7 separate regions of the Homo sapiens genome follow, and regions 1, 2, 3, 5, 6 and 7 are each linked to region 4. Evidence: promoter capture Hi-C in 16 types of primary human blood cells and fetal thymus (Javierre and others, 2016). All regions are on one chromosome and are shown on one strand. Each heading gives the region's core, a stretch centred on a gene start or on the middle of the fragment in contact. The rest is flanking DNA. Distances are from core to core; before and after follow the strand shown. Region 1 overlaps RNGTT (RNA guanylyltransferase and 5'-phosphatase). Region 2 has its middle 2.2 kb from the start of RNGTT. Region 3 overlaps RNGTT (RNA guanylyltransferase and 5'-phosphatase). Region 4 holds the start of AKIRIN2 (akirin 2). Region 5 overlaps RNGTT (RNA guanylyltransferase and 5'-phosphatase). Region 6 has its middle 7.3 kb from the start of UBE2J1. Region 7 overlaps RNGTT (RNA guanylyltransferase and 5'-phosphatase).

Region 1 (3,797 bases), core at 696-3,195, 1.2 Mb after region 4:
AACCAAAATTTAGGAATTTCATAAGCCCAAGGATCAAAGAGTACCATCCCTCTACTATTATACCATTATTTCTCTGTACTAGCCAATGGCATTTCTGTTTAAAACCATTTTTATCATTAAGTACAACAGCTAAAGGAAAAAAAGAGTATTTTTAAAAGAAAGCTCAACCAGATAGATGAGGTTTGTAACATATTTACTTATTGAGTGCTCAGATAATTTCAATATCCTTAAAAAATTGTTTCTTATGCTAATTAAAAAAGAACACTTCTTTTTAGAGAGTTCAATATTAAGCATCCTAATTCTGATGGTATTAACAGCATGAGATGTTCTTTTTAAGTTTTACACAAAGAAAGTCTCTAGCTTCATTTATCAACGTGGATTTCCTATGCAAAGTTAAGAAATTTACATTAACTTCTGAAATGGGCAAAATAAAAGCAAAGGCCAAATTAACCTAAGTTACTACTAAAAACACAAACACTATTTATATTTTTAACATATAATAAAAAGGACTAACACATAGAAAATATGATCACATTCAACCAAGCACTTTCCCACAATATTACCACAGAAATATTTTAATAACATTTCTATGGGGTTGAAAAAGCTGAATATTTTTAATTTAACAGAGCCAATAAATACTGAGCATCAGTACAGATCTAACAACTACTGAGTCTGGTTATAAAAGTTAACCCCAATCACCTAGTAAATGTCTGTCATCCATTTATTGTTCTTCTTCCTTAATCTTTCCTACCATGCATCAACTTCTTTTTTAACTTCCTCTATTTTCTTCCACAACAAATAAGTAAAAAGAAAGGTAGAAGTCCAATAAAAAAAAGTATGATACACTTCATACACAAATCATCCTTGGTAACTTTAGGCTAACATAATTTGCTATTTAATGTTACTACAATAGTTCTGACAAAATACCATTTTTATATTATTCAAAATTATATAACTCCAAGAAAGACCACTAATTTTTTTATTTATTTCTAGATGCAGTTTCTTTAATGTAAGCCAATTCTGGTTATTTCTACCTAGAGCTGAAAGCAACCTGAAAATACCCATCTTCATTTTCATGTTAGAGATCTAGAAACTGTTTCAAGATTCTAAATGTGCAAAAGGTCTAAGAGGGGAGAAAATAAAATCTTTTAAACAAGCTTTGCACGTGCTGATACTGCTCATTATTTCATTATATCAGCCCTTCCAAATCTTGAATTTGCATTTTTAACCAGTGTTAGAAAATCCTGTATTTCCCTCCCTGGGAAATATGGGAAGCATGAGCCATGACATATTCCTGAAGCTAAATCTCAGGGCATCACCTCTCACAAACAAGAGATCAAGATGCTTTTCATATTTATTTTATTTTAAAAATCCACAATGGATAAAAGAGAACAATCATCCAGGATGTAGGTGCCAGACACAGGGCAGAAGGTAGCTAGAAAAGTATGCCTTAGGGAAGTTAAGGGCCTAGCCTCATCCCTACCTTGTTTTAATAGCTGTACCTAACATAAACAGCTTAGTTTTCCATTGTTGTAGCTTCCTCTGCCCCATTTACAAACATGGCACAGCCGGCATGCCTTGCAAGGCCTGAGTTGAAGGACCGCATGTACACACAGACCAGTACAGCAGTACTAGGCTAACTAGAAGGATATCATCCCCATATGTGATCTCATTCCAAGTCTACAGCTGACTACCTTCATTGTTATGTATGAGATGGTTTCACTCCTTGAAAATATGGCCACTTCAGCATAAAATAGTTAAATCTTTATAATGGAAAGATCACTAATTCTAAACAGTGGCCAGATGTGGTGACTCATGCCAGTAATCCCGGCACTTTGGGAGGCTGAGTCAGGAGGACTGCTTGAGCCCCAGAGTTCAAGACCAGCTTGGGCAACACAGTGAGACCCATCTCTATTTATAAAAATAAAAAATAAATAATTAATTTTAAAAATAAATTTTAAATAGCAATGTCTTCGGTCTGGAATTATTGTGAACATACTATAATTGAGTATTAAAGTCACTGACATTTATTTTCACTTTTCAACAAATTATTTCTGTTTGTGAAAATAAAGAAAAATCGAAAGTTAAAAAAGTATGTTTATAGAAATATATTTCATAAACAGAGTCAGCTAGCCTTAAAATTAAAATCTGCATGGCTATCACAACAGAAATGAGTGATCCTTTAGACAGAAATTTAGTAAATATTACAGAAGATGGAGGCAATTTATGTGAGAGAGAGCTCTGTGTGTGTGTGTGTGTGTGTGTGTGTGTGTGTGTGTGTGTAAAGAGAAAATGTATACAAGAATATACGTACAACAGGCATATTTTCATAATGAGGAAAATACATTCATCGTTGTATTCAAAGAAATGATCTCAGACATCAGTTCAAGGAGTAAGCAACATACCTGTAAGTCATACTCTTCCAACTTAGTAACACATGTACTCAAAAGATGAATAAAGAAGGTGTCTTAGGAATGTAAGGGGCCAAGCACAGCATCGGACATGTGCCACAGTTATAAACCCAAAGAGAACTATCAGAATTAATTACAAGGAGTCCATTACTTGAATACATAGTTATATCAATATAAGAATCAGAAAAGACTGTACTTAACAAAAATAAAGTCTCAAACCAAAAATACCTTCATTATGTCAAGAGATGTGATCTATAAAATAGTCACTCTTAGATTGCCTCTGTTAACTATCTTCAACCTCAGATGGAAATAAAAGAAAAATGAAAGCTTTTCCAACCATAAATGTAATAAGTAATTATATCTGTGCTTCTCATCCCTGTCAACCATAGGTCAACTACAGTTGACACCATCCACAATTCAACTCTTCAGTCCCCTTTCTTCTCTGATGGTTTTGTACTCACTGCTTTAAAGCCCCTTTTCCTTGGTTCATCTTATCAATAATCACCTTCCCAAAGAGTTCCAATGTAAACCCTGGAATTCCTTTTTCATAAATAACCTTCCCCATCACCTCAACCATTTTCTTGAACACCCCGTACCGTGTCTCAACTAAAAGCTAGCTCTCCCTAGACAGATCATGTCATCTTAAAGCTACTTATTCTCCCACAGCCCAAGATCCATGGCAGTAATTTAAACTACTGTTCTATACCTCCTCACTGCTTTCCTAATCTCTTTCAAAAGGCCCTCTTGTGTTTACACTAATTCCTTTCAGCTATACCACTCAGCTGTAGTAAAGCAGAAATCCACTGTGGGTACTGGCATAACAACTCTCTTTAAGGGCTGCCCTCCCAACCCACAAAGATGGGGCCTAATAGCTATTTTACATGACATTACAAGATAACATCCTACTCCAGCCAAAGTTGATGGGAGCACGAATAACCCCTAACTCAATCTGAAGCCATCAGATTCTCTCTCCTGGTAATTTGGAATTGGGATTCCGAGACAAGCAGTTAGTCTCTGCATGTGGCTAAAATTATAACAGGTTACCTTAGAAGCTTCGAGACAGTTAATGATCTCCCAGGAAAATCAGGAATCAGGAAGAGCCAATCTTGAGAGACAGAGACAATGAGAAGACTGATACAAATAAAGGGACAAAAGCAGAGATGCGATATTAAGAAGAAAGAGCAGAAACTAGGTTCTAAGTAACTTTCCAGGTCCAGGTTCCAATATTGTCCTAAAATCTGGCACATTCCAGTGCCTGAGTTCCACTAATTTACTCATGAATAAGTACCCTTAATATTTAAGCCAGTTTAAGTTATTTTCTGCTGTTTACAGTCAGAGAGTCTAAACTAGTAAAACCCTCTATCCTTTGTGTATTGAAAGATATTG
Region 2 (4,073 bases), core at 693-3,192, 1.3 Mb after region 4:
GGACGCGCCCGGACGCTACTGGTTCGCCTTTGCGCATGTGCAATTGCCCTCGTACCGAACTCCGCAGGACGAAGCGTGTATTTTTTTCCCATCCAGACAACCTAGAGAAACCCAAAAAAGAGGGAAGCCAAGCGCCTTTCCATGCGTAGATTGCCCGCCACTTCCGTTAAGGCATCTATTTTACTGATGAAAAGAGGCCTTCTGAGCGTTACCACAGCTCAAGCTTGGCGTCCCAGCCGGATCTAGGTTTGATTTGCAATTAGGGAAAGTTGTTCAAGGGAACAAGTCTTAGGAGAATTCTAAGGACATGAGATTGGAGTACCAGAAATGGGGAATTTTTCTTTTGGTGAGTACTTACGAGGATCTATGAAGCTTCTGAAATTAATTCCAGAACACTTAGAGTTTTGTTTGTACATTTCTGGATCAAAGTTTCAAAGCATACTGGGGAGTTTGAGAGGGTCCATGTCTCCAAAAAAAGTTACTAATTAATGTGGTATAATTGACAAAGGTAGGAATTGATCAGTGGAGAACCTCTTCGTGGCGTTGTTCTCCTTGGCCTACCAAATAAACAGTGCCTTTTATTTTCCCTTCGAGTTAAGCAGAGGTGCTTGAAAAATTTTTATAAATGCCGTCCTTTAACGAGCCTTTCCTTTGTTACCAGATTAAAGTGTTAAATATAAAGCTGGATGATGGCGAATCAATTATAATGTAGTTTGGCTTTAAACACCAATGCTATATTGGAACTGCAAGAACGTAAGGCTGCAGGGAATACATTTTTAAAGCGTCGGTGGGGAACTTTCTGGGACGCTCAACCCCCTGAATGCCTGGACCCCCTCAGTAAGAGTCCCATCAATAGAGGCAGTCCAACAGCAATCTCTCTGAGGCAGCCTGAGTTAGGTCACACTTCTGGTCTGTCCTGCTGTTGCATCTGCTCAGAACTGTTAGTGAAGGTGTAAACTCCTCCCCTGACAGAACAAGATAATACCCAGTTTCCTTTAAGGCCATCAGTCTACCCAAATAATCTCCGATGAATTCCCTTTTCTGCTGATAGAGTGTGTACCATGCCCAAAGTGGTAAAAACCTTCCATCCCCAGACCCCCTCCAAGGATGGGAAAGGTGAGCCTGATCCTGGAAGAGTATCTTACCTTCCCCTTCTGGGGATGACTCCCCTTGGTGACTCCCCTTCCCACACACGCTATACCCAGTAGCTCAGTCCTAGGCACACAGAAGCTTCATACCACTGGCGAGCAACTGTTATTGGCTGTAAGGCAGCAATGTGCACTGGATTTTTATTCTGCTATCCAGTTATGCCCTCTCCATACTCATTGCCACAGAATTGGGAGGACCCTGTGGCTACCTTTTGTCCACAATAGAGAGTAGAGTAGGAGAGTGGCATCCCGATGAGCAGGCAGTTTCTCTCTGCCTGTCAGGAATGCCTTGCCTGATGTGTGTTTCTGCCTATATTGCTCCTAGTCCCAAGTTTCTACTACTCTGTGAGAAGAAAAATAGATGCTCACAGACAGACCAACATGATTCCTCCCCCGCTTCCTGGAACCCCTGACACCCTCCCAGATATGTCTTGATCTCCTCTTTATCAGATGTAGATTCTCTTCATTGGTGAGTCTTTCATCAAACATCCATTTTGCCCATAAGGAAGAGTGTGTACATGTAAAAAATAAGATTGAACGTTCTCTTTTGGCAAAAGAGAGAGATCTTATCTGTCTTCCCTTTTCCTAGGACTTTTCCTTGAGAAAAACCTATATTTATTAATCCTTCCTCTTCACTTTGATATGTAGATAAATCTTTTGTTTTTGCAGACAGGGTCTCACTTTCTCACCCAGGCTAGAGTGCAGTGGGCATGATCAGGGCAGCCTTACTGGAGCCTCAACCTCCCAAGCTCAAGCAATCCTCTCACCTCAGCCCCCAAGGAGCTGGGACTACAGGTGCAGGCCCCCACACCCCACTAACTTTTTTATACTTTTTTCGTCTGGAACTCCTGCAAGCAGCCCTCCCACCTCAGCCTCCCAAAGTGCTGGTAAGACAGCCAGGTGGGAAGGATTCCTTGGCAGAATCTCCTTTTGACCTGAGCACTGGGAGGAATGCACCCTGTGGTGGAGCCTTGGGAAATTTGCGCCATTTGCAGTGGGGAGGAGCCTGGCCCCTCCTTTTCCTAGGTGGAACCTGGGATTCAGTCTACCAGGCAGGAAGCACTCTGGCTTTGGGGAGAGTCTCTGTTTCCCTTTTTTTCTTTTTGCCCAATAAATTCCATTCTCACCCTTCAAGGCATCTGTGAGCCTAATATTTCATGGCCATGTGACCAGGACCCAGCTCTTAGCTGAACTAAGGAGAAAGTCGTACAACAGCTTTGGCACCCAATGTGGGGCTTGAGAAGCGGTTGAGTGACACGGGGACTCAAAACTTTTCACTGTCATTTCTAAGCCTTTTCATGCGTGGACTTCTGAGGGTAGGGAAACCATGCCCCCACTCCCATCGCTCCCTGGGGTCAGGGGCCTTTCCATGGCCTTTGCCTTCGTTTTTTGGGAAGGATAGGCAAGTCGCAGCTCCTCATTCCCTCTCCCCTCCCAGCTGGGGCTGGGGAATGCCACATGTCCACAGCATCTTCCCCTTCCCTGGCCAAGGCTCAACTCCATCTGATAAGCTTCTCTCCCTGGTAGAGGAACCATTTGCCTAAGAATAAAAGGTTTATTCCCCCAGGCATCCTTTTTTCTTCACCCCATCAACAGTTAACTTTTAAACCAGATGTTTTTTTTCTTTTTCACTAGGCTAGGAATGATAAGGATCCCTGTTTATATTCTCCTTAAAGTTTGGTTGTGAAAAAGGATCTTATGGGGACTGGTTTTCTTCTGCCTGTCTGTGTAGCTATATATATGTTGTGTACATGATGTCTATGAAAAGAGCTCAAAGGCCAGGCACGGTGGCTCACACCTGTAATCCCAGCACATTGGGAGGCTGAGTCAGGCAGATCACCTGAGGTCGAGAGTTCAAGACCAGCCTGACCAACTTGGAGAAACCCCATCTCTACTAAAAATACAGAATTAGCCAGGCATGGTGGCACATGCCTGTAATCCCAGCTACTTGGGAGGCTGAGGCAGGAGAATCACTTAAACCTGGGAGGTGGAGATTGCACTCCAGCGTGGGCAGCAGGAGCAAAACTCCATCTCAAAAAAAAAAAAAAAAAAGGAGCTCTAAGGCCAGGTGTGGTGGCTCATGCCTGTAATCCCAGCACTTTGGGAGGCCAAGGCAGGCAGATCATTTGAGAGTCAAGAGATTGAGACCAGCTTGGCCAACATGGTGAAACCCTGTCTCTACTAAAAATACAAAAATTAGCCAGGTGTGGTGACGTGCCTGTAGTCCCAGCTATTTGGGAGGCTGAGGCAGGAGAATCCCTTGAACCCAGGAGGCAGAGGTTGCATTGAGCTGAGATTGTACCACTGCACTCCAGCCTGGCCAACAGAACAAGACTCTGTCTCAAAAAAAAAAAAAAAAAAAAAAAAAAACTCTAATTGGCCTAAAGGAAGACAAGTGCTTAGATCATATATTTTTTAAAGGGAAGGTAAAAGATGTGGTACCTTTCAGTTCATGTGACTTTAATCTTTGAGAAATAAAAACAGCCTTAAAGATTATTGGTAAAAAACAGATGTCATCAAAATGTAAATAGGTGGACTAAATTATGCAGGTTAGGTACTAGTCTTGCTAAATGTTTTAATGTTATAAACTGCTTTTTGAGTTTTGAGAACTATCTGACTTGCTGGCTTCACAATTGATAAGGCCTGGGGACATATGGAACTAACCATGTCATTAATTATGCTAGAAGGAGTCAAAACTTCGCTGCACCTGGCACACAATTAAAACAACTTACCAGGTTTTACATTAAAGTTAAAATTGCTAGGAGTTACCATTATAATGTATAATTGAAACTACTGAAAATAGATTTACATGCAAGGTGTGTAAGAACAGTAAAATGTGTTTTTTAGTAAAAGGTAATGGAAGGCATGGAAATGTAAATTTTTGCCTAGGGTTAGGGAATTGTTTTAAATTAGGTAAGATAAAGC
Region 3 (4,180 bases), core at 1,231-3,730, 1.2 Mb after region 4:
TCTGGAGTATCCATCACCTTGAATATTTATCATTTCTATGTGTTAAGAGTATTTCAAGTTCTCTCTTCTAGCTACTTGGAAATACACAATACATCATTGCTAACAACAGTCACCTTACCCTGCTACCAAAAATAAGAATTTATACATTATATCTAACTATATGTTTGCACTAACCAACCTCCCTTCACCATGCTCCTCCTGCCCACACACCCTTCCCACCCTCTGGTATCTATCGTCTATCATTCTACTCTCTATGTCCATGAGATCAGTTTTTTTTTTTTAAGAGATAGAGTCTCACTCTGTTGCCCCGGCTGGAATGTAGTAGCACAATCATAGCTCACTGTAACCTCAAACTCTTGGGTTTAAGTGATCCTTTCATCTCAGCCTCCTAAGTTCTAGGACTACAGATATGAAATCAACTTTTTTGGCTCCCACAGGAGTGAAACTGTGGAATTTGTCTTTCTGTGTCTGGCTTATTTTGGTTAACATAATAAACTCAAGTTCCACCCATGTGCTGCAAAATGATGATTTCATTTTTTCTTCATGGCTGCATAGTATTCCATTGTGTATATATGCCACATTTTCTTTATCCATTCATCCACCCTTTGATAAAATTATTTCTGTTCCTTTGGATAAATACTCAGTAGTGAAACTGCTAGATCGTATAGCAGTTCTACTTTTAGTTTTCTGAGAAATTTCCATACTGTTTTCCATGGTGGCTGTACTAATTTACGTTCCAACCAACAGCATATGAGTTCTCTTTTCTCCACATCCTTGCCAGCATCTGTTGGTTTTTGTCTTTATAATAGTTTTGTTTTGTTTTTTTGAGAGAGAGACAGGGTTTTGCTCTGCCACCCAGGCTGGAGTGCAGTAGCACAATCATAGCTCACCACTGTAACTTCAATCTTCTGGGGTTAAGGGATCCCTCCACCTCAGTCTCCTGAGTAGGTAAGATGGCAGGCACATACCTCATGCCTGGCTAATTTTTTGAATTTTTTTAAAGATGGTGTCTCGTTATGTTATCAAGGCTGGTCTCAAACTCCTGGCCTCAAGTAATCCTCCCATCCATCTCAGCTTCCCAAAGTGCTAGGATTACAGACATGAGCCACTGTACCTAGTCATAAATAGCCATTCTAACTGGTGCAAGATGATATTTCATTGTGGTTTGGATTTGCATCTTCCTGATGATTAGTAATGTTGAGCTTTTTTTCAGCATTTTTTCATATATCTGTTGGCCATTTGTATGTCCTCTTTTGAGAAATGTCTATTCACATCTTTGCCCACTTTTTAATGGGATTTTTTTCCTGTTGTTTCCAGTTCTTTGTATATTCTGGATACTAATCCCTCAGAAGAATAGTTTGCAAATATATTCTCCTATTCAGTAGGTTGTTATTTCACTCTGTTGTTTCCTTTGCTGTGCAGAAGCTTTTTTATTTTATTTTTTGAAACAGAGTCTCACTCGTTGCCCAGGCTGGAGTACAGTGGTGTGAATATGAATCACTGCAGCCTTGACCTACTGGGCTCAAGCAGTCATCCTGCCTCAGCCTCCCAAGTAGCTGGGACCACAGGTATGTGCCACCAAGAAATAAGGTCTCACTCTGTTGCACAGGCTGTTCTCCAATTCCTGGCCTCAAGCAATCCTCCCACCTTGGCCTCCCAAAGTGCTGGGATTACAGGTGTAAGCCACTGTACCCAGTCCAGAAGCTTTCCAGTTTCATATCATCCCATTTGTCTATTGTTGTTTGAGTTGTGTTTTTGAGGTCTTAGCCATAAAATTGTTACTGAACCAATGTCCCACGGTGTTTTCCCTATGTTTTCATCTCAAAACTACTGTTTTCTGCTTTCAGGTCTTACATTTAAAGTCTTTAATCCATCTTGATTTGATTTTGTATATGGTGAGAGATAAAGGTCCAGTTTTATTCTTCTGTATATGGATATCCAATTTTCCCAGCACCATTTATTAAAGAGTGTCCTGTCCCCAATGTATGTTCTTGGTGCCTTTGTCTAAATCAGTTGGCTGTAAATGCATGCATTTATTTCTGGATTCTCTATTCTGTTCCATTAGTCTGTTTTTACACCAATGCCATGCTGTTTTGGTTACTATAGCCTTGTAATACACTGTAAAGTAGTGTGATGCCCACAGCTTTGTTCCTTTTGCTCAAGATTGCTTTGGTTATTCAGGCTCATTTCAGGTTCCATAAAAATGTTAGGATTCAGGTGGGGTGCAGTGTCTCATGCATGTAATCCTAGCACATTGGGAGGCCAAGGTGGGAGAACTGCTTGAGCTCAGGAGTTCAAGACCAGCCTAGGCAACACAGTGAAACCCCATCTTTAAAAAAAGTTTTTTTTAATAAAATTAAAAAGTTAGGAGTTTTTTCTATTTCTATAAAAAATGTCATTGGTATTTTATAGGGATTGCACTGAATATGCAGATTGCTTTGGAAAGTATGGTCATTTTAACAATATTAATTATTCCAATCCATGGGCATGGAGGTCTTTCTATTTGTTTGTGTTCCATTCAATTTCCTTCATCACTGTTCTAGTTTTCCTTGCAGAGATCTTTCACTTCCTTGGTTAAATTTATTCCTGAGTATTTTACTATTTTTGTAGCTATTATAAATGGGATTGCCTTCTTGATTTCTTTCTCAGCTAGTTCAGTATCAGCATACAGAAACACTACTGATTTTTGTATGTTGATTTCTTTTTTTGTGTATTTCTTTCAAAGACAGGGTCTCATTCTTTTGCCCAGGTTGAAGTGCAGTGGCTCAATCATGGCTCACCACTGCCTGGAACACCTGGGCTCAAGTGATCCTCCCACTTCAGCCTCCTGTGTAGGTGGAACTAGAAGAACACACCATTGTGCCTGGATAACTTTTACATTTTTAAAAAATATTTTGTAGAGATGGGGGTCTCACTTTGGGGTCCAGTCTGTTCTTGAACTCTTAGCCTAAAGCAAACCTCCCACCTTAGCCTCCCAAAGCACTTTGGGGTCAAAGGTGTGACCCACTGTCCAGCCTGTATGTTGATTCTGTATCCTTTACTGAATTTCTCATCAGATCTCAGAGTTTTCTGGTGGAATCATTAAGTTTTTCTAGATTTAAGATTATATCATCAGCAATGAGGGACAGTTTGACTTTTTTTCCAATTTGGGTGCCTTTTATTTCTTTCTCTTGCCTGGCTGCTCTAGATAGTACTTCCAATACCATGATGAATAAGTGGACATCCTTGTCTTGTTCTAATTCTCAGGGCAAAAGCTGAAAGCTTTTCCCCAATTAGTATGACGTTAGCTGTGGGCTTGTCATATATGGTCTTTATTATGTTGAGTTATGTTTCCTCTATGCCTAGTTTGTTGAGAGTTTTTATCATGAAGGGATGTTGATTCTTATCAAATGCTTTGTCTGACTCTATTGAGATGATCACATGGTGTTTGTCCTTCATTCTATTGATGTAATGTATCATATTTATTGATTTGCATATGCTGAACCATCATTGCATCAGAGATACTGGCCTGTTTTCTCTTTTTGTTGTGGTTTTGGTATAAACATAATGCTAGCTTTACAGAATGAGTTAGAATTCCCTCCTCTTCAATCTTTTCAGGATTATTTGAGGATTGGTGTTAGTTCTTCCTTAAAAGTTTGGTAGAATTTGGTGGTGAAGGCATCCGGTCCTAGACTTTTTGTTGGGAAATGTTTCATTACTGATTAAATCTCCCTACCTGTTATTGGTCTGCTCAGCTTTTCTATTTCTTCCTGATTCAATCTTGGTAGGTTGCATATATCTAGGAACTTATCCACCTCTGCCAGGTTTTCCAGTTAGTGTATACTTGTTCATAATAGTCTTTGATGGGCCAGGCACGGTGGCTCACGCCTGTAATCCCAACACTTTAAGAGGCCGAAGCGGGCAGATCACGTGAGGTCAGGAGTTCCGAGACCAGTCTGACCACCATGAAGAAACCCCATCTCAACTAAAAAATACAAAAAATTAGCCAGGCGCAGTGGCACATGCCTGTAATCCCAGCTACTCAGGAGGCTGAAGTAGAAGAATCACTTGAACCTGGGAGTGGAGGTCACAGTGAACTGAGATCCCACCATTGCACTCCAGCCTAGGCAACAAGAGCAAAACTCCATCTCAAAAAAAAAAAATAGTCTCTGATGATCTTTTGTATTTCTGTGGTATCAAC
Region 4 (3,893 bases), core at 1,084-3,583:
TAATGACCTTATTTTGAAATGGCTTTATTAGTTAAGTACAGAATCCATTTCAATTTCCAATGATACCATTTCACTAAAAGACAAATTCCAAAAATGTCAACCACCAGTAGCTCATTCTTGACATTGGCTGTTTCCTTTTTTTTTTCCCAAAGTAAAGCCTAACAATTAATCAACAAATGCCTTTTCAATCTAATTAAAACACAGTTTAGTAAGGTCATTAAATAAATTTATCTAAGAATTTCCGTAAAAACTCACTACAACTCTAAAACAGTATGTCCTTAAATTAGACCAAATATTTAATAGCAAAAATGGTAGCTTGCATATTCGAGGGTCACTCCATGGATTTAGAAAATATTTTTAAATGTGACAAAAAAAAAAAAACACTAAAGTCAGTTTCAAATGGAAGTCACCAAATACAGAGGTATATACTTCGGTTTTTTAAGCTACTGATAACGAGACATTTAAATCAAGCTATGGAAAGGCTTTGTCTAAAGGGTGATATTATTACTAAAGGCTCACACAGAAATCTTTGCATGCTACACACAAAGGAAACATTTACACTTCTAGTCCACAAAAGCCTATCCTAGGATTGTGCCAGGGGCACACAAGGATTTCAAAGTACAGAAAAAACTGGGCATACACATGCCCTACAAAGCAGCCAAAAGACATTCCCCAGTCTCTCTCAGGAAATGTTTCAAGATGAAAAGCAAAAGTCTGAAGTCCCTTGGAATCTTGGGTTGATTTCTTCATTATTCTCAAGGCTAGGTTGTTTTCCCCCAGCATACTTTGTTGGGCAAAAATAAAACATTTCCAAATAAAAGCAACTCCTCAGCCCCAATTTTCAATGCAATATGCTTATTAAAAGTTCAACATTTCTCAAGGTCTAGACTTATAGTGTGATCATATTACAGTACTCGGGAAGAGCATTTTCTTTGTTGTTGACCCTGCTAGGGAAACAGGTCTTGACTCAGCCAAAGTGGCGTTCTTGTGGGTGATTAATGACAGGCCTAGATCTCGCCCTAGTGACATCCATCCCCCACCCCCCACCCCCACTATACTAAAATCAGCCGTGTCTGAACTGAAGGAGGGGCTGTAGCCTCGCCTCAAACCACCCAGTCCCAGAGTTAATAGCTGCAACCAATCGATTACGGCAAGCACACATCCAGATTGGGGTGAAATGTGACCCTTTCGCCTAAATTTACGAATAATATCGTCCTCTCTGATCATTTCCGCTGGGGCTCCAGCGACTACGGAAACAATTCCAATCATTCGGCCCAAAGAAAAAGATGTCCCTGTTCTACCCAATACGGGCAAGGCAAAGCCCCTACCCACCTCCAAACACTATCCCCTTGACATCAGCCCATTTCTATTGTGTCTTATTAGGTCCTCGGGCTACGAGGACCTAGTGAAAAACGTGGCTGCCCTACTACTTTGCTAAGAACAAGAACCACACAGTCCGGCACCCCCACCCCAGGGGCCGCATCCCACACCCCAGGACCCCTGTTCCCAGTTCTCTCCACTACCCCGGCGGCCGCGGGGCCGGGTCCCACCTGTGGTGAGGCGGGAGGAGACGTCGCCGAAGGGGGATGGCTCCATTCGGAGATACTTCTGCGGCGAGGCGGCCGCAGCGGAGAAGGAGGCGGCGGTGGCCGCGGCCGCCGACAACGGGGAGGCAGCGGCCGAGGTGGGCGCCGACAATGGCGCACATCGCCTGCGCTTCGGGGACGCCGGGCTCAACAGCGGGTCGAAATCCAGAGTCCTTTTCAGAGTGGCTCCGCACGCCATGGCCGGGGGCAGCTGAGGCGCCGGGCTCGGGTGGGGTCGGGGACGGGTGACGAAAGAAGAGGGTGAGGGAAGGGGTGAAGAGCGGGAACTCGAGGAGAGCCTACCCGACGGGCTCAGGAGCCAAGCGGGTCGCGGAGCGCCGGCTGTGGAAAGGAGAGCCGCTGCCGCCGCTGCCTCCGCGGCAGGGGCAGTGGCCAGGGACGGCCCGGGTGAGAGCGGGAGGGGCGGTGGCGGGCAGAAGCACACGCCAGTCGCGTCAGGGGGGTTCTTCCGCCTCCTCAGGCGCGGCTCCCCCGAGAGAGGCTCCGGCCGCCCCCGCCGTCCGCTCGAGCTTTGCGCCGCGCCTGAGGCGCTTCTGTGCTGAGACTAGATCCTTTCTGAAGTCGAAAACAGCACCGTGGGGTGTGAGGCTGGAACGCGGCTCCTAATACGCCCGAGTACGGTCAGTAGCTTGCGAGCGGCGATCGATGCAGAGAGATTGCGAGGTAGCTGCCGCAGCAGGAACCCAAGCGAACACGTCCAACCGCTTCCCCTCCCTCGTAGAACTCTCCCACCCGCCGCCGGCCCCAATATGGCGTCAATAACAACGCCGCCGATTCAAATCCGGCGGCCTCAGAGCGCTTGCGCACGGGGGCGGGCCAAACCGGGGATGCATTTTGGGAGTTGTAGTTTTTAGGTACCGGGAGGAATCGGCTTGAAAGGCGGGAAGGGAGGAGTCACAGAAACTACGACTTCCGTCATGCAAGGCGCGCGATTCCGAGTTCCGGGTTGGAATTTAAATCCCCCTACACAGCTTGAGTGTAAGAGGAACTAAGCAAAAGAGAAAAAAAGAGAAGGTTCTGAGACAGTGGGAGATGGGAAAGCGAACCCGTGGCAAAAGCAGGCTAAGCGACATAGAAATCTTTTAAGATTCTCCGTATAGTTGCTCCCACAGTGATTTCAGATCTGGGAAATATAATAAACCAATCTCTAGTCAAAGTTAGCTTAATTTCGGTAGCGACAGTACCCAAAACAAGACCTTTCACATGGAGAGGATAGGAGATAATGAGATTATGAAACCTATTTAGGACTGGCAGACAGAACAACAGTAATAGTATCAGGTTACAGGATCCTTGATTCAACTCGATGCTCTACCCTTCGGAGGTAGCTGCTTCATCCACTAATGAAATTCTGTAAAGCCAGCTTTGCTTCTGTAAATGAATAGGACTTGAACGACTTACAGAATCAAATTGTTTTGCGTTGGGTAAAAAGCAAGTGGTATCAGACATTGCATTACTTCTGTTGAATATTGGTGCATATATTGTGAACTTTGTTACAAAACTAATCAAAAGACAGTGAAATGTTTAGGTAATAGATATTGGATGGATCCATTTTGTAAGCGGAAGGGGAAAAAAGTGTTTCTAGAAGTTGTACTTTTAGTCACATACCTAAAATAAGAATCAAATACAGCGCTAATTTAGAAAGTGATCTGTGTAGCCGGGCATGGTGACTCACGCCTGTTATCCCAGCACTTTGGGAGGCCGAGGCAGGCGGATCTTCCTGAGGTCAGGAGTTCGAGACCAGCCTGGTCAAAATGGTGAAACCCCGTCTCTACTAAAAATACAAAATTAGCCGAGCGTGGTGGCGCGCGCCTGTAGTCGCAGCTACTCGGGAGGCTAAGACAGGAGAATCATTTGAACCCGGGAGGCGAAGGTTGCAGTGAGCCGAGATGTTGCCACTGCACTCCAGCCTGGGTGATAGAGCGAGTCTCTGTCTGAAAAAAATGAAAAGAAAAGAAAATGATGCCGGGCGCGGTGGCTAACGCCTGTAATCCCAGCACTGGGAGGCCGAGGCAGGCGGATCACGAGGTCAGGAGTTCGAGACCAGCCTGTTCAACATGGTGATACCCTGTCTCTACTAAAAATAAAAAAAATTAGCCGGGCGTGGTGGCGCACACCTATAGTCCCAGCTACTCAGGAGGCTGAGGCAGAAGAATCGCTTGAACCCGGGAGGCGGAGGTTGCAGTGAGCCAAGATCAAGCTACTGCACTCCAGCCTGGGTGACAGAGCTAGACTTCGTCTCAAAAAAAAAAAAAAAAAAAAAAAGTGATATATGTAGAAACTATCACC
Region 5 (4,141 bases), core at 1,126-3,625, 1.2 Mb after region 4:
AAGCCACTTCTTTTATGTGCTTCCATACACATATAAACTTTGTTTTTTCTCTTGCTAATCTATGTTTTGTCAGTTTAATTTGTAGGCCCCTAACTATTGAACCTAAGTGGGTACAGGAAAGTTTTTCCTCCCCACTGGTAAGAAATGGAGGTCTCATGCCAACAGCCAGCTGAGGAACTGAGGCCTGCCATCAACCATACACATGAGCTTGGAAGTGGACCCTTGAAATGACAACAGCCCTGGCCAACAGCTTGACTGCAATCTGATAGACGACATTGAACCATAATCACCCAGCTTAATAGGTACAAAAAAAAAGAATAAATGAATAAGACCTACTATTTGATAGCACAATAGGGTGACTATAGTCAACAATAACTTAACTGTACTTTCCAAAATAACTTAGAGTATCATTGGATTGCTTGTAACAAGGGATAAATGCTTGAGGCTATGGATTTAAGAAAAACAAAAAAGACTCACCCAACCACACTGCTCCCAAGAAACGATGAGACAGTAAATATTTGAATTTTAAACTGTTATATTTTGGGGTAATTTTAGGGTAATTTATTAGAAATGGCTATAACAATGAAGATAATGAAGGGAAGGAGAAAAGAGCATCAGCAGATGCACTATTTCAATAAATTTCTGGTTGACAAGAAATAGACGGAGAAGTACTGAAAAGTGCTGAGAAGCATGCACAGAGGTAGCAGGATTCACAGATGGAGGTGCCTATTTTACAAAACCCCAAAGAAGATCCAGACCCAGAAACATCAAGTGCACAGGATGACTACAGTGACATATGGACTGAAAAGGAGGGATTGGTTATTTTTAGCTATGTACAACAATTAAATTCTCACAACTCATACACACAACACACAGGTTATTCCTCAAGCAAAAGAAAAGAAAAATCAGAGAGCTCTTCTCTAAAGAAACTGAAACAGGGTGGGAGGGTGAACAGAAAAAAAAAAGAAAGAAAGTAAAAGAAACTGAACCAAATGGGTAGTGAGGGAAGAGCACCTAAGCACAACTGCTTATCATAAAGCAAAGGTCAGAAATTGACAAACCCAGCCCACATTCATGGAGCTTCCAAGCAGCTTCTCTGCCTCGTTTCAAATGCACAGCCAACCAAGGATCACCACACATTTGAAGAAACTAGAAACATAAAGAAGAAAGATGATTCAAGGAAGAGAAAGATAACTTTAAATATGCTTTTAACTAGTATTCTCATAGAGATTCAAGAAGCTATCACAACCATAAACCAAGAACAATTTGTCATGAAAAGGTACAGGCAGAGAACAAGAATGTATGTACTATTGACAAAAGCATAATTACCAGAATAAGTAATTCAACAAAAAGAAAGGAAGAAAATAAGAGAACCTGGTACTTGGCACATAACAGACACTTAAAAAATTGTGGAATGAATATGTTTTTCATTTAGTCAATGAAACAAAAAATATATATAGACAGAGGGAAAAGTCTAAAAGCATACACACCAAAATGTAAGCAGCAACCATCTCTAACTGGTGAAATTACATATGTTTTTCGTGTTTGTCCTGTTCCTTATCTTCATTTTCTAACTTTTCTACAATGAATACAAATGACTTTTATAATGGGGAAACACATTTTTAAGACATTATCATTTTTTCATTATAAGACCAGAATCACAAGGCAAAAAAGAAATTTTTACTAAAATGCTTATCAAGTCCAAGTTAGAAAAAGTTTCAACTACTACCATTAATAATAAGATAGGTTTAGTAAGATATAGACATACTCATTGATCTTGACCTAATTAAGAGAATTTGAAAAGCTTGCAAAATAACAGGACACTGCAAACTTATTATTCGTAGCACAGATCAGGTAATTGGTTCCAATACTAGTAAATAAATCTCATGAATCAACCAGTTCTGTATATAAGAAGCCTCTCTTGGTTATTTTAATTAGTTACTTTCAGATTAAGTAGCTCTCATAATGAGAATGTACAGTGTCTTCATTAGACTTCAAAGTGTAAAATCAAATGATATACTCATTTGCATTAATTACCATTTATGTAACAGGTTATGCTTTTCAGAACTCTGTAGCAATACAAGTTAAATATGTAAAATACAGCATTCTTTTAAGTGATCTTCCATCAGGGTATGCCACATTTATTGCTCTAAAGATTTACCTTGATATGGAATAAAATTTAAAAGCCACTTAACGTATTCTGGGCAGCACTACCTATCACAGAGGCATGTAAACAACATTTTAATTTTTATAAAGTAATCCATCTTCATGAAAAGAAAAGATCAAAAGAATTTTCCCAAAAGTTTTATTTTACATTTGTCCCTGACTCGCTGATTACTTTCAGTTTTCTTTTGTATAAAGCATGCATTCTAGAAAAATCAACTATAATTATTTCAAACAATTTTTCACAGATTCACAAAGAGGATAAAGTTTTTTCCCCTTTTTTATCCAAGCCAGCATTTGCCACTTCCATAATCACACATAATGAATAAGAGTATGTGAGCAAATAATGAGTTAAGAAAGTATCACAGAATCGTAAAAAAAAAAAATATGAAAATCCAGTTAACACCTCATCTAACAGATAAGCTCTACTGCTGAGATGGGTCAAAGCAAATGTTCTTCCATCTGGTCAGCAGCACTACTCAATACTAAATATCAATATTCAATACTAAATATATCTTACTTATTTCCTATATAAAATTTAAAAATCCATCTATGAACACCCAATATCACACTCTTAAAATCAAAACAAGCAGTCATATTTCATATACAGTATCAAGTAATGCTCTTTATTAGCTCTTTAGTATCTCTTACTTAGTTGTCTGGTACTATACATAGTTTTGTTATATCTCTTACTACATCTTAAATTGTACTTCATTTTCCTGCTGAGAGTAGGAATTGTACTTTTACTTTCCTCTAGTGTCTTGTATTGTCTTTGAGACCTTCTAAAGCTTACAGTAGCTTAACAGTTATCTATTAAAGCAGTAAATATTGTCTGCAAATATATTTATTATCCCATTAAGTGAAAGGAGCAATGCAATTTGAATTACCATCACAAAGCAATTTGAAAAAAAAATAATAGAGTTTTTCTATTATTTATTTATAAGAGAACAGCCTATATCATATCCCATTATATGGAGGATCAGAAAGTAAGGAAAGAAAACAGCAGGTAAGAAGATGAAGGTATAATGTCTCGAGAAACCAAACATCCAACTCTTAATATTGATTATCCCAAGGGGTGGGATAAAAGTTCTCACAGGGAGAACTTTTTAATTTCTTTTTAATGTTTTATGAGGAAGACAGAAGACATTATCAGAAAAAATATATTTTAAGACAGAAAAATTCATCTATTAGCATAAAACAGTAAAAATAACTATCAAAATATTGAAAAAATAATGAGGACATGACCTGGCAAAAAGGATTCTGGGCTCTGGGGCCAGATCACTTGCATTCAAATCTCAGTCCTGCTACTTACAATAACTGTGTCTGTGACCTTGAAAAAGCTACTTATTCACAATGCTATCTTACAGCGTTGTGAGTATTAAATGAGATAAATGTTCTATGTAAAGTACTCAGAACAATGCCTAATACACATTAAGTGTTCAACAAGTATTACTTGTTATAACTGTTGCTATAGCCAAAATACAGAATGAACTTGTGCAACCACACTAGTATTCAAAAAAAACTGCTAATCAAAGCAATTTTAAAATTCATTTTCCTTTAATTTTTACATCAATAAAATCTTTTAAGAAAAAAATTCATTTTCCAATTGTCAACTTGGCTACATTACTTATATTAAGTGAAACTACCCCAAATTGCCAAGGATGTACACTCAAGCACTGCTGTTCGGAGTGTATCACTACAACCTCTAGCAAGGTATATCAAGGACTTCAAAGGTTTCCATACTATATCTAAGTAATACTATTTTTGTCAAAATTTATGCAAAGATGGGTATAAGAAGATCAGTACAGTTATTTATAGCAACAAAAAAACTGGAGTCTAAATGCCCCTATAATCGAGGGTGAACTATTTTTTCTTGGCAGCAATTAAGTCATTTTAAAAATACATGTTATAACAATGAAATATACTCATGTTAAGATAAAAAGCAGCATACAAAAATAATCATGCCTGAGTATTGTGG
Region 6 (4,019 bases), core at 62-2,561, 1.7 Mb after region 4:
CAATATTATTGTCTTCAGAACAATCAGTACTACACTGCTTCCCATTAAAACCCAAGTTACAATTATAGGCAAACTTTGAATGATAACCACATCGTCAACTTCTCAAAAGTAGTCCTGTACTTTTTTCAGCACTAACCAACCAGAAGGTATAGGTATGCCACAATTTGCCTTCTAGCATCTTGTGAGAAAATACTGGAGCCAGTTTAACTTCTTTGGGGAATTCAAGTTGGGTCTAGGTACAGATGCTGGCTGGGCGCGATGGCTCATACCTGTAATCCTAAAACTTTGGGAGGTGGAGGTGGAGGGGAGGATCGCTTGAGGCCAGAAATTCAAGACCAGCCTGGCTAACATGGTGAGACCCTGTCTCTATGCAAAAAAAGGGGGTGGGTACAGATGCTATTAAATAGTAATATATACCATATATGCAGAATGGAAAGCAAAATTTTTCCAAAAATATCATTCCTCAGAAAAGAGAGTCACCTTGTGTTTTTGTCTTTGTCCTTTTTGAACAAAATACTCTTCAGGAAGACAATATGTCGTGAAAGGGTCACAAGTAATGGCAATTTTCTGTCTTATAAAGGTCACCTAGCAAAATCAGGGGAAAAAAGGCAAAGACATATTGATTAATTATTCCTGAGGGTATGACTTTGGATAACAAGTATTGGAGATCATTAAGTAGGCTTTTAAATAATTATTGAACAGAGAAATACAAGAAGTACTTATTTATGGTGATTATGAATATGTAGGAAAAAAACCCTGATGTTTAACAAGTGGTTCTCGAGATGTAGTAAAATCTCCACTGACAGCATTCTACTCAATGTAAGGCATGCTCTACCTTAGATAACTAGGAGGGAACTGTTAGAGGACTCACAATGTTGTTTCAGTGATGATAGAGACCCAGTTGTAAACGATGCATGTGAAGTATTTGAATAAAATTGTTTGAGGAAAAACCAATTTTTCTAAATTAGTACCATTTGCATAATTTGTGCTATTAGATGTAAATGAGTATTTAAATACTGAATCAATAAATGGTTTAAATAGACTTAAAATTATTTACATTCACAAAAGTCTACATTTGAAATATAGGTTAAATAATATAAACTCTTAAAGCTGCATAATCAAGTTGGAAAAAATGCTAACACTTGGGGTGTTGATGTGTATGTAGGTATGGAGGATGCAAGAAAGCTCCCCTAGGTGATTGCAACCCTAATCCCCTACCATTTCCCCTCCCTATCCCTTTAAACAACTACAGAGAAAACAGTGTCTCACAAATTATAAGAATTGTTTAGGGTCCTTATTTAAAAATACAGATTTCTGTATTTCTCCCTGGAGATTCTGATTCAAGAAGACCGGGATGGGGCTGGGAATCTGCATCCTTAAGCACTCTAGATGATTCATAAAATCAGGTAACTTTGGAAAATATGGGCCTAGAGCATTAAATGAAACAGTACTATGTGTATTGGTGGCACCGTTTCTTGCACCTTATAAAGCTAAGTGAATTCCTTCCTCTCCTACGGAGATGGAAAGATACATAGGACTGTCTCCCGCAGTCACCCCCTTTACTGCACTGCTTCCCAGGGAAAAGAAACAAAAGCCTAATTACCAAGGCCACCTTATAAGCAGTCTGGGAGAAGGCCAGAATTAGTTCCAAGTTATTGGCTATCTAGGTGAGGAAAGTTGAGTACTATGGGGCTTAGCTCTCTGCAAAGCCAGAGGGGAGAAAACTGAGTAGCAGCCCTCTTAGGGACTTAGGCAATAATGAAAGCAGAAGGCAAACAAAAGCAGCTTGTAGGAATGGAATTCTCCACGTGGTGATGAGGGTTAGCATGGGACTGAGGTTTAAATTGCTCTATCATAGTTGGCCTTTCATGAGAGGGGGATTGGTTTCATGACTCTCAATTTTGGAAGAATAGAATAACCCTGCTGGCCCCAGGAGCTTATTAGGAAAGATTGAGGAAGCAAGATGGTCAAGGTCTCAGGCAGCTGGACACCAGTTAATGCCCCCACCCTCCTGAGTGTAGTCACTGGATCAGCTCCCTTTCAAAATAGCACAAAAGGGCAAACTCATGGATTCTTTTTTTTTTTTTTTTTTTTTTTGAGACGGAGTCTCGCTCTGTTGCCCAGGCTGGCGCCCAGTGGCGCGATCTCGGCTCACTGCAACCTCTGCTTCCCGGGTTCAAGCGAATCTCCTGCCTCAACCTCCTGAGTAGCTGGGATTATAGGTGCGTGCCACCACTCCTGGCTAATTTTTGTATTTTTAGTAGAGACGGGGTTTCACCATGTTGGTCAGGCTGGTCTTGAACTCCTGACTTTGTGATCCACCCGCCTCGGCCTCCCAAAGTGCTAGGATTACAGGCATGAACCACCACACCCAGCCAAACTCATGGATTCTTGATAACGGATAAGACCAATGTCATCTGAATTAACAAAGGACCCCTTAGGAGTCAGACATGAGCTCATGAGTCACTAAACTCCATGTAACGCTATCATATTATAGTCAAGGATAGAGTCTGTAATAAAAATGATCCTCTCAGGCCTACAACCCCATCAACCCTTCACCCGTAATACAACCCAGCATACAAAAATACCCAAGGATGGCAGTGAAAAGAAAAACCACTTTAGTAAACACTAGAAGGCCATGATCAAATGAAAGAAAAATTCAGGAACTTACTCAGAATTTCCCATTTGTTAAGATCTCTTAATTAACAGAGAAGGAAAAGATTTTAGGTTGGAAAGAAAATCCTTAGATATTTCTGATGTGGCCAATGGGTTCATTCTAACACTACTTTACAAACCACAGGTTGTGACTCATTAGTGGATTGTGAGATCTTTTTAAAAAAAGCAAATGAAAGAGAAAATACCAGAATGCATTGCATGTAGAGAGGATATAACTTGGTAAGTTTTTTTTAGTAACATTTGTATGAGTGTGTGATAGTTTGCAATGTGAACTGTATTTATTGTGGCTCACAATAACAAGTTTAAAATTGATTTCATAAAGGTGAACTACAGTTCTGTCCCAGGGCAATTTTATCTAGCGTTCAAACATGGCTTCAGGCATGAGTTCACATGGACGTTCTACTTTTTAAAGATGGTTTAGTTTTTCAAGATTGAATATGAGAACCACACTTCATCTCAGCTTTAACTGCTAAATCATTTATTGAAACCATAAATGTAATATTCTACAAAGAAAAGACTATTGACTTGTAAATATTTGTTGCACTGTTCTAACAATATTGTTTTGGATTTTTTTTTAAATCCTGGAATTAAGTTGTTTCTTGGAATAATATGATACTTCAAATTGGTATCTTAAAATCATGAACGAGACTACTAGAGCTTATATTTTCACTTTCCCAGGACTATTGCAAAATACTGATGATACAACTGAAATAAGATCACTGCCTGAACTTAACTGTAATTTATGATAAAAGTAGGTCTTTTGAGGACCTCTAGGACAAGTATGACACATTTTAAAATCACCCAGCCTTTCAAAATTCTGAATGATGTGAAAGAGTTTTGCATTTACCATCAGATTTTTCTCACATATTCTACTGTTCCTGATGACATGTTAAGAGAATATAAACATTCTTAGGCGACACTCTTATAAATAGTTCCCTGGTACGAACAGATTGAAAAGGGTAGAAAAGTAAAATAAACTTTTGTTTGTTTGTTTGTTGAGATGGAGTCTCGCACTGTCGCCTGGGCTGGAGTGCAATGGTGCGATATTGGCTCACTGCAACCTCTGCCTCCTGGGCTCACACGATTCTCCCGCCTCACCCTCCTGAGTAGCTGGGATTACAGGCGCACACCACCACACTGGGCTAATTTTGTGTATTTTTAGTAGAGACAGGGTTTCACTATGTTGGCCAGGATGGTCTTGAACTCCTGACCTCATGGTCCGCCCACCTCAGCCTCCCAAAGTGCTGGGATTACAGATGTGAGCCACCGCGCCCGGCCAAATAAACTTTTTATTAAATCCAATTCTGGAAGTGATATTGATGTCATACATGTATTAAGCTGGA
Region 7 (3,715 bases), core at 1,030-3,529, 1.2 Mb after region 4:
GGTATAAGTCTGTAGTTTGTATTAATAACATAATCCAAATATTTGTGTTCATCAATATGGCCTTGTTCTCAGCAATGAACTTTATCAAAAACCCAGGTTATACATTTGATACATTTAAAAATATATGCCAAAAAAATCACTTTAATCTCATTTGTATATTATGGTAGGAGTTCTTTCCAAAAAAATTTTTTACTATGTGGAGGCCAAAGCAACTCCATCTTGGATGCTAATCTGCCTATGTTGACTTCTGATTAACCCCAGTTCTGGGAAGGCCTCTAAGATTTCTAGTTTATCTACTGTTCTTTGTGTAAGAGCATGTCCTAACTATAAATCCTGCCCAAAGGTAAAAACAACCTTGATGTGATTGTACTTACTTGTTCTACTTAACCCTTCTGAATCACCTGTTTCCTGTGGTTTATAAGCCCTGGCCTTGGGAGTAATGGTGGGGATCCACCATCTTATCTCACTGCCACCTGACAAGCAGGACTGGTTTCTTTTTAAGTCCCTATTAAATATATCTTTCTAAGAAACCGGATTTGTCAGTCTCTTTCTTTGGTTTCTTTGCTTCCTTGGACTTTGAGAATAGGTTTGCATAGGCCTGCCCACCACAAAACATGCTACTTTTAAAATTTTTTTGAAAACAACTATCAATTGAGCCAAATCACCAATTTCTACATTCCTGGTATAATAAAATGACCATTAATATTTAGAATAAAAACCTTAGTCATTGAACAACTCTCAATAAAAAAGGATATTTATACAATGGAACTGCAGACAGTAGGAACAATCTGTGCAAATGTAAATATATTAATCAAAAAAGCACATATGGCAAACTATAAATAAATCAGAATGGCTAGAATATGAGCTGTGGTAAGAAATGCCAAATGCAGTTGGAGAAAATGAAAGGGTCAAAATCCTAAAAAAACCTGTGAAACATACTAAAGATTATAAAGGCAATGGAGATATAGTAAAGAATTTTAAGCATGGCAATAAAATTATCAGAGTTTAGAAAAACCACTCCCACGGCTGATTATAGCTCTGGCCTGTAATCCCCACCCCAGCACTTTGGGAGGCTGAGGGTGGCGGATCACTTGAGGCCAGGAGTTCAAAATCAGCCTGGCCAACATGGAGAAACCTCATCTCTACTAAAAATAGAAAAATTAACTGGGGTTGGTGGCGGTTGCCTGTAATCCCAGCTACTCGGGAGGCTGCGGCAGGAGAATCGCGTGAGCCCAGGAGGCAGAGATTGCAGTGAGCTGAGATCATGCCACTGCACTCTAGCCTGGGCGACAGAGCGAGACACCATCTCAAAAAAAAGACTGAGAATGAACCATGATGGGCTTCAAAGAACAAAAACACAGGGTCATGTATGCCAAGTAAAGGAAATTTTCTAAGTTATGAGTGCTTAGATGTCACATAATGATTAGAATGGAAAATCACTATTTGATTAAGAGTGCTAGCCAGGTGCAGTGGCTCATGCCTGTAATCCCTGCACTTTAGGAGGCCGAGGCGGGAATATCACTTGAGGCCAGGAGTTCAAGACCAGCCTGGACAACACAGTATGACCCTGTCTCTACAAAAAATAAAATTTAAAAAATAGCCAGGCATGGTGGCAAGTGCCTGTAGTACCAGCTACTCGGGAGGTTGAGGTGGGAAGATTGCTCGAGACCAGGAGGTCGAGGATGCAGTGAGCTATGATTGCACCACTGCACTCCAGCCTGGATGACTGAGTGAGACACAGTCTTAAAAAGCAAACAAACAAAAAACAGTGCTGAGGGAGGACTCCAGACTGCAACAAAGTGGATAGGAAAAAATGGATTCAAGTATAGATTCTTTTAAAAAGTCAGCTGAGAAAGGGAAGAGGGAATGCAAAACAGAAAGAAGGGTACGGGGTTTTTTTCAGCGGGAGGGGATTATTTAACAAGTTTAGGTATGTTTACAGGCTCAGGACAAGAACCTAGTTAAACCACAAAGCTTGACAATAATAGAAACGATATAAGTGAAATTAAGTTTCTGAAAGAAGAAAATAAAAAACAAAGAGATCAGCCTTGAACTGAAGACATCACTTAGAAATAAATAGCTATGACCAAGAAAATCTATAAATTCCATTATCTCCATTGCTTTGTAAGAAAAAGTGCTTCAAAAAAGCCACACAAAGATGTGCACTATAAACACATTTTTGTATTCATGTATCTTAACCCAACATGTAAATTTCCTTACTATCTTCTATTTCAGACCAATTCAAGCAACAAATATTTCAACTTTCGATGTTTCTCACCTAAGCTACTGTTTTTGTATCCAATTTTTACTCTTGCAAGATTAAATATTTTTATGAATAGGAAATGTAATAATAATTGCCAATTAGCTAATATGTCATGTGAAGATATGTAATCTAGGAAAGTACCATTTTCCTTTTAATATTCTTTATATGCAAATACAAAAAGTCTTAGTCTAATGGTTCAGTTATACATCAAAACATTTATAGATAGGGTTATAAAGTTACAAAACCATCAAAACAAACCACTATAGAAAAATGTGGGAGATTATGTATTTGATATTAAAAAATCCATTAATTAGGTATACTACAAGCTTAGATACGTCTTCAGTTTTTGTTTAAAGCAATTTTCAGTTTTCTTCATCATGAGAATGGGTCCATCTAGTGGTAAGTAAGCCACAGTTTTTAACTAAATATTAGCTCACAATTAACTATTTCAAGGCAACTTCTATTCAAATTTTTCCAGGCAAGCTAATATAATGAAATAAATGTATATGGCATTTACAATCAAACTAGGGAAAGAAACTCCCCAACAAATAGACAGAGAGATTAGCTATAGCTATACATGTTGGGGCAGTTTATAAAGGGGCTGGTGACAATGTATCTTTTTAAATAAAGCCTGATCTCAACATACACTATTTTGGAGGGTGTGGGGGGTATAGACAGGGTCTCTCTATGTTGCCAAGGCTGGTCTTGAACTCCTGGGCTCAAGAGATCCTTGGCCTTGGTCTTCTGGGATTGTAGGCATGAGCCACCACACCTGGCCCACAATTTTATTTCTATCTCACTAGCTAGATAAATTTTTTAATGCTAAAAATCCTAATTATTTGATCAGTCTAATTAGGTCAGTAGTTCTTTTTTTTTTTTTTTTTTTTTTTTTTGAGACGGAGTTTTGTTCTTTTTGCCCAGGCTGGAGTGCAATGGAGCAATCTCGGCTCACTACAACCTCTACCTCAGCCTCCTGAGTACCTGGGATTACAGGCATGCGCCACCACGCCTGGCTAATTTTGTATTTTTAGTAGAGACAGGGTTTCACCATGGTGGTCAGGCTGGTCTCAAACTCTGACCTCAGGTGATCCACCCGCCTCGGCCTCCCAAAGTGTTGGGATTACAGGCGTGAGCCACTGCACCGAGGATTCAGTAGTTCTCAACTGGGGAAGATTTTGCCCCCCAGGGGACATTTTGTAATGTCTAGAGACAATTTTAATTGTTACAATTTGTGGGATGAAGTTGAAGTCCAGCCTGAACAACATAGCCAGACCTGGTCTCTAAAAAATTATTTAATATAATACAATAAAGGCAAAAAAAATTAATGCAGTTGTTCCTCAGACTCCTCAGGGGATTGGTTCTGGGATCCCCCTCAGATACCAAAATCCTCCGATGCTCAGTGCTCAAGTGCCTTGTATAAAATGGCATAGTATTTGCATATGACCTATGAAC

Evidence for each region. Contacts are between HindIII fragments. The CHiCAGO score rates a contact against its expected background, and 5 or more counts as called.
Region 1: a contact is called between a fragment that was not itself captured here and the fragment with the promoter of AKIRIN2 in region 4, in 2 of 17 cell types (megakaryocytes and erythroblasts). The highest score is 6.7, in megakaryocytes.
Region 2: a contact is called between a fragment that was not itself captured here and the fragment with the promoter of AKIRIN2 in region 4, in 2 of 17 cell types (total CD8 T cells and naive CD4 T cells). The highest score is 5.8, in total CD8 T cells.
Region 3: a contact is called between a fragment that was not itself captured here and the fragment with the promoter of AKIRIN2 in region 4, in 1 of 17 cell types (M1 macrophages). The highest score is 5.1, in M1 macrophages.
Region 5: a fragment that was not itself captured here is called in contact with the fragment with the promoter of AKIRIN2 in region 4 in 2 of 17 cell types (erythroblasts and total CD4 T cells); the score reaches 6.9 in erythroblasts.
Region 6: a fragment that was not itself captured here is called in contact with the fragment with the promoter of AKIRIN2 in region 4 in 1 of 17 cell types (non-activated CD4 T cells); the score reaches 5.5 in non-activated CD4 T cells.
Region 7: a fragment that was not itself captured here is called in contact with the fragment with the promoter of AKIRIN2 in region 4 in 1 of 17 cell types (monocytes); the score reaches 5.3 in monocytes.

Annotation. Positions count from the first base shown.
Region 1 is chr6:88,892,988-88,896,784 of GRCh38, forward strand. All of the region lies in intron 6 of RNGTT (RNA guanylyltransferase and 5'-phosphatase), which reads right to left. Among named protein-coding and RNA genes, the nearest start is that of RNGTT, 69 kb to the right of the region's middle. The HindIII fragment of the contact is 1,581 bases long and covers 1,156-2,736 here.
Region 2 is chr6:88,963,785-88,967,857 of GRCh38, forward strand. No RefSeq gene overlaps it. Among named protein-coding and RNA genes, the nearest start is that of RNGTT, 2.2 kb to the left of the region's middle. RefSeq lists a silencer at 1-131. The HindIII fragment of the contact is 1,429 bases long and covers 1,229-2,657 here.
Region 3 is chr6:88,933,216-88,937,395 of GRCh38, forward strand. The region is part of intron 2 of RNGTT (RNA guanylyltransferase and 5'-phosphatase); the gene reads right to left. Among named protein-coding and RNA genes, the nearest start is that of RNGTT, 28 kb to the right of the region's middle. The HindIII fragment of the contact is 1,557 bases long and covers 1,703-3,259 here.
Region 4 is chr6:87,699,900-87,703,792 of GRCh38, forward strand. AKIRIN2 (akirin 2) reads right to left here and starts at 2,334. Exons shown (of 5, transcript NM_018064.4): 1 at 1,551-2,334. The coding sequence starts at 1,785. RefSeq lists silencers at 1,506-1,715, 1,896-2,065 and enhancers at 2,226-2,285, 2,596-2,905. The HindIII fragment of the contact is 11,354 bases long and covers 1-3,893 here.
Region 5 is chr6:88,872,121-88,876,261 of GRCh38, forward strand. The region is part of intron 8 of RNGTT (RNA guanylyltransferase and 5'-phosphatase); the gene reads right to left. Among named protein-coding and RNA genes, the nearest start is that of RNGTT, 89 kb to the right of the region's middle. The HindIII fragment of the contact is 1,147 bases long and covers 1,803-2,949 here.
Region 6 is chr6:89,357,969-89,361,987 of GRCh38, forward strand. No RefSeq gene overlaps it. Among named protein-coding and RNA genes, the nearest start is that of UBE2J1, 7.3 kb to the left of the region's middle. The HindIII fragment of the contact is 6,763 bases long and covers 1-4,019 here.
Region 7 is chr6:88,916,578-88,920,292 of GRCh38, forward strand. All of the region lies in intron 4 of RNGTT (RNA guanylyltransferase and 5'-phosphatase), which reads right to left. Among named protein-coding and RNA genes, the nearest start is that of RNGTT, 45 kb to the right of the region's middle. The HindIII fragment of the contact is 615 bases long and covers 1,973-2,587 here.